Linked DNA regions of Homo sapiens: region 2 is linked to region 1. Evidence: promoter capture Hi-C in human tissues and cell types (Jung and others, 2019). All regions are on one chromosome and are shown on one strand. Each heading gives the region's core, a stretch centred on a gene start or on the middle of the fragment in contact. The rest is flanking DNA. Distances are from core to core; before and after follow the strand shown.

Region 1 (3,040 bases), core at 1-2,500:
GACTGGCTGGTTCCTACCTGCGCTGTTTCCTTGGAAGATGCTGATGGCCACTTTCTGTGGAGCATCTGGGGTGGAAAGAGGTGGCCGCCTCAACATCCCTGAGGAGGGATGGTAGGCATGGGGCCTTCCCCTCAGGAGCCATGAAAACAGGGAAAGGGGCTCTCCTCTTTGGCAACCAGGTCCCCAACTTTAAGCTCTGGCTCAGCCCTGCCCTGTCCCCCCACACCCTCAGGGACCCGGGCGTCCTGGCCCAGCACTCACAGGAGACATTGAGCTGGATGGTTCTCTCCATGGTCACACCGGCTCCAGGGAACGTCACCTGACAGGTGAGGTTGGTGCTGTGGTCCTGGGGCCGTGGGGTGATTGTGAGCACCGAGGACTGGGTGGTCCTGGGGCCCAGGGAGGTGGGGGCAGCTGACATCCAGGAGAAGATGGGGGGCGTCCCCTGCTCACAGACCCAGGGCACAGAGCAGGTCAGATTGCTGGGATGGCCAGACTCCAGGGTCCCTGGGATGGAGATGTTGGGCCTGTGGGTCAGGGCTGGTGAGGAGATGGGGACGCAGGATCAGGATGGAGGTCTGAGGTTTCACCCAGGGGGAAGCCCAGTCTCTGGTCCAGCTCCTTCTCTGAGCCCAACATGCTTAATTGTACCCGCCTCCCAAGACGGGGCTCCCGTCCCAGCCCTGCCCTACGGCCCCCATGACCTTCCCCTGTGGCTAGTCCTGGAGCTGGTTCCTTACCCATCACACGCACAGAGAGCTTGGAAGATGTATAACCGTATTTCATCCATTTGGACTTCAACCGAAAGAAGTATGCAGCATTGTCCCTCCTCCGGGCATCTCTGATGCTCAGGGAGCAGTTCTTCCTTCTGGGATCCCAGAGGAGGTGGAATCGGCCCCGGGTCTCCTCCTGCACTTCTTCGTCTGGGTCGTTTGTGGCCACTGGAACATCAGCCCCTTCCAGGAACCAGTAGCCATAACCATAGTACGAGGCTGGAAGGGTAGTGGGCAATCTGCAGGGTACGAGGACGCACAGACCCTCCTGCACCGTCAGTGACTCTGGCCCCTCCAGCTGGAATCTCCGCTCCTGAGCCAGGGCCCCTATGGAGACATGAGGGTCAGCTCGGCCCAGCCCCACGGCACCTCTCCCCTGGCCCACTCACCTGCCCACAGCAGGGGCAGCAGCAGCGGTAGCATCTCTGAGGCGGAGGCTTCCTGGGCTCCCTGCATGAGCAGAGAAGGGGAAGGGAGTGGAGGGGAAGGACTGCGGGGAGGAACGGGTGGCTGGGGAGGAGCGCGTGATCTCGGCTGTTCACAGAAGAGGAACTGCGAAGCCACAAGCCCTCGGAGCTCCACTCCCTCTGCACAGAGCAGACGGAAACTTTGAGACCCAGAGACCTGCCCAAAGAAGAGCAGAGGAGAAGAGACTGTGTCCCGCCTCCCACCTCGGGGCTTCCTGTGAGCAACAGAGCCCGGACCAGGGCCTCCCGGGGCATCTGAGGAATGCGAAACCTGTGTCCAAGGCCCTGCCCACCTGAGGTGCTTTTCTGTGCACCACTGTTTACACCTGGGAGCTGGTCACTCCTGGCCCCAGAGAGTCACAGCCTCATCCCACGCCATGAGAAAGTCAGTCCTGCAGGATATAGGATTCTGTAGGGTCTGTGGGAGTGTCTGGGACAGTGAAAGGAAGAAGGGTCCCAGGTGCAGTGTGGGTGATAGCCACTCATTCATTCACTCATTCATTCATTCATTCATTCATTCACCAAAGACATAGTGAGCATCTGTATGTAGGTCGGGCTGGAGAAGAGATGCCAGGGACCTGGTCCCTACCCTTGAGATGATCCCCATCCATAGCTTCCCATCCTCAGCACACACCCTCACTATCTAGCTTTAGAGCTGTGGACACTGGTGAGTTTGCCAAGTGACACAGTAGAATGCCAGATATTTTTTAAAACATGAGTATGGAGGTTTTTCCTTGACAGCTAGTACGCTGATTTACAAAATTTCAATGACATCTCCAAAATAAGAACCATGCAACATCTTCATGTAAATCAAAAAGGACACATATTTTATGAACTGCAGTGCAGAAGAAACTTCTTTTGAATTAATGTTGCCACTCAGTGCAGTGTGGACTGGAGAGATTTTTTTTTAGGTCCTCATCATAGAGATTAGCAATTTCTTTCCTGTGAAAAATCTGCTTCTCACAGTTAAATGTGGCACAAAAGACATATTTCTGGACAACGTGAGCAGAATATCCTGACAAAATTAAAATTTTTAGGTCTAGCTCACATGGTTTTCTATTTTCCTCTGTGCAGTATGCATCTGGCAAATCTCTAATACCTATGAGGTATTAGAATTTGCCACCATATATTTGTAAATTTTTTTATTTCTACAAACTTAAGGAGTAGATGTAAAATTTTTTTGCATGTATATAATGCGTAATGATTATGTCAGGATATTTAGAGTGTCCGTCACGTGAGTGCAATACATTCTTGTTAACTAAAATCACACTATTCTGCTCTCTAACGCTGAATTTATTCCTTTTAACTGTATGTTTGTAGCACTTCACTCACTTCTCTTCATCTTCTGTCCTCCCCCATCTGACCCTTTCCAGTCTCTGTTGTCTATCTTTCTACTGTCCACCTCCATGTGATAATATTTTTTTAGCTCCCACATGTAAGTGAGAACATGCAACATTTGTCTTTTTGTGTCTGACTTATTTCAATTTAGATAATGAATTCTAGTCCCATCCATGTTGCTGCAAATGACACGATTTCATTCTTTTTTATGGCCAAATAGCATGTATACTATATTTTCTTTATCCATTCATCTGTTAATTGACACTTAGGTTGGTTCCATATCTCTGATATTGTGAATAGTGCAGCAAAAATCATGTGAATGCAGGTATCTCTTTGATGTATTTCTTTCTTTCCCTTCGGGTAGATACCCAGTAGTGGGATTGCTTGAGTGATCGAATAGTAATTCTATTTTTAGTTCCTGAGAAATGTCCATAGTGTTTTCAAAAGTGGCTGTACTAGTTT
Region 2 (3,040 bases), core at 357-2,856, 170 kb after region 1:
CTGGAGGCCGGGAGAAGCTGGTGCAATACGTTCAATTATACTTACTGAATGTGCCAGGAACAACCGCTGTGACCAAAACTGCAAACCACCTGTCCTCGGGTTGCTTATATTGGGGTGGAGTCTGGGGAGATAGACAATAAACATAATCGATAAAATATCTTAGTATCTTAGTATGTCAGTTGGTGATCCCTGCCATGGAGGAAAACAGAGAAGGGGAAGAGAAAGGGGTGATAGTTTTTTTGTTTTTTTGAGATAGGGTCTCACTTTGTCACCCAGGCTGGATTGCAGTGATGTGATTATACCTCACTACAGCTTCAAACTCCTGGGCTCAAGCGATCTTCCTGCCTCAGCCTCCCAAGTAGCTGGGACTATAGGTGTGCGCCACCATCTTTGGCTAATTTTTTAAATAGTTTGTAATGATGGTGTCTTGTTATGTTGCATGGGTTGGTCTTGAACTCCTGGGCTCAAGTGATCTTCCCACCTCAGCCTCCCAAAGTGCTGGGATTACAGGCATGAACTACCGTACCTGGCTGGGTGATAATTTTAAATAGGTTGGTCAGGGCAGGTGGAAATGACAGGGTCCAGTTGAGCAAAGACCTGAGCAAGGTGACAGTGACAGCGACAGCCATGCAGATAATCTGTGGAAAGAGATTTTCAGGCCACAGGGAATAGCCAGTGCAAGACCCTGGGGCCCGTGGGGCTGGAGTAAAGGTGAAATCAGAGAGATAGCAAGGGGCCACCTCCTGTAGATCCTCATAGACAGGGGGTTCTCAAGCCCCAGCATACATCAGAATCCCCTGGGAGCTTATTTAAAATGCAGATTTCTGGGCTTCACCACCTCTGACCAGGAGGTCCAAGGTAGGGCCCAGACATGGACGTTTCTGTCAAGATCCCAGGGAATGCTGATGCTGCTGCTCCGGGAACACTCTTTGAGAATCACTGTTGTAGGCCCTTGGAATGACTTTTGTTTTTTGCTCTTGAAATGGGGGAGCTGTTGGAGGACTTTACACAGAGAGACAGGATCTGACCTGGGATTTAACAAGATCTCTCTGGCAGCTGTATGGGGCCTGGACAAAGGCAGGAAGACTTCCAGTGAGAAGCCGGCCCATGGTGGCTTGGACCAGTCACAGTGGTCCGGGGGCCCAGATGAGGTCTGAGCAGAGTGGGGTGGGCATAAGGATTTGACCGTGTGCCAGGCTTGCCCATGCGTGCAAAAGGCTGTGTTTGCCATACACAGAGTCATTCATATTAAGTATCTTCCTAAAGGATATCCTCTACCGGCCCTGTGAGGCTGGGTTTTATAGCCCCGCTTATCAGAAGGGAACGCTGGGCTCTTCTGGACAAGAACAGTAGGCCCAGGATATATTTGGAGATAGACTGGACCAGATGTAGGTGGGTGAGGGCAATGGGAAGAATCAAGGATGACTTTTGCGTCTCCTCCAGAGGGAGCAGCAGGGAGATGGAGGAGCTGATGTAGGCTGACTGCCTCTTGGTGATCCCAGGTGATCTTATTTGTATATATGTATATATAAACCATGGAGTAGATGACGTGGTACAGACTGGATGCAGTATTAGGTGTGGAGATTATGTATGCAGCGATTAGGTGTGGAGGCTCTGGAGCCTGACCACCAGGGTCAAATGTAGCCATGTGATTTTGGACCACTTCTCTAATCTCCCCATGCCTCCGTTTCCCCACCTCAAACTTGGAGATGGCAATCCTAAGTTTGCCAGCCTTCTCTAACACTCACTACGTGCTAGGAGCCATTCTACACACTTAGTGACACCATCTCATACAATCATTAAACGATGCCATGGAAGAGTGGGGATGAGGATGCTTTCATGGTTGTATGGCGTCTCATCCTCCCGCTAATTCTGTGATACAGACACTGCTGTCATCCTCATTTGATGAATGAGGAAACTGAGGATCAGGAAGGTGAAGTCACTTGGCCAAGGTCGCATGGGGAGGAGGGCTTGTGATTGATACTCAGATCTGAGACAGGTGTGCTCAAGACGGAAGCACCAGGACTCAGACCCAGATGATCTGAACCAGGGTCAGAGCTCCTGACGATATGCAACTCCTCTGGGGGAGACTTTACAACACCCACCCATGCCGCCTTATGGCCCGCTTGCTATAACCCAGGCCACTTGGCCTGTTCGGAACATTTCACTCCACTTATACTCCCCTGGTGGAGTATAAGCCCACCCGGCCACCATGGCTTACTTGGTATATCCCACGCTCACCCTGCCCATGAGTCATTTGATTTGGCACATAGAAATTCTTTGGATGACTCCTCCAACATCCTGGCCTCTCATTTGTGCACCCCAGTCTGACCACATGCTCCTGATCATCCTGCCATCTTGAGACCACACTCCTGCTCTGTGGCCAAGGAGAGACCACTGGGTCCTCATTTGGAACCCACTTCTGGGCATCAGTGCTTCCTCTCTCCAAGTGTATATCCAGTGATCATTGTTTTAGGCACTTTCTTGCCAATATCCTCAGTTCCCTCCCTTTTTGTATGGCTTTAATCACAGAGGACGCTTTCCCCTGTCCCTGCAATGGCTTTAAGCCCGTAGGAAGTTTAGCTCTCCTATATAAAGTAAGTCTTGTGGTAGGCACTTAAGGCTAATATGGCACCTCCATTTCTTGGGGATCCAAGCTCCTTCAAGACTTAATATCCCAGGGAGTAGCCCTTGTCCTCATGGTCCCGTGTGGCTGCTAGAGCTCCAACCATCAAAACAAATTTTCAGGCAGCAGGATGGATGAGGGGAACAATAAGATGGCACCACCTTCTCTGTCTTTGTTTTTTAGAGACAGGGTCTTGCTCTATTGCCCAGGCTGGGTGGAGGGCAGTGGTGCAATCATAGCTCACTACAGCCTTGAACTCCTGGGCTCAACCATCCTCCCACTTCAGCTTCCTGAGTAGCTAAGACTACAAGCACACCATCACACCTGGCTAATTTATAAAAATTTGTTTAGAGATGGTGTCTGGATATGTTGCCCAGGCTTGTCTCGAACTCCTGGCCTCAAGTGATCCTGTCA

The links. The method cuts DNA at HindIII sites, captures the fragments that hold promoters and counts their contacts. A contact is called where the count stands out against the background at its distance.
Region 2: a fragment that was not itself captured here is called in contact with the fragment with the promoter of SIGLEC6 in region 1 in 1 of the 25 tissues and cell types used here (spleen).

Annotation. Positions count from the first base shown.
Region 1 is chr19:51,530,420-51,533,459 of GRCh38, forward strand. It overlaps SIGLEC6 (sialic acid binding Ig like lectin 6), which reads right to left and starts at 1,251. Exons shown (of 8, transcript NM_001245.7): 1 at 1,163-1,251; 2 at 741-1,100; 3 at 262-540; 4 at 18-65. The coding sequence starts at 1,229. The HindIII fragment of the contact is 9,007 bases long and covers 1-3,040 here.
Region 2 is chr19:51,696,217-51,699,256 of GRCh38, forward strand. The region is part of intron 2 of SPACA6 (sperm acrosome associated 6); the gene reads left to right. Among named protein-coding and RNA genes, the nearest start is that of SPACA6-AS1, 4.3 kb to the left of the region's middle. The HindIII fragment of the contact is 6,273 bases long and covers 1-3,040 here.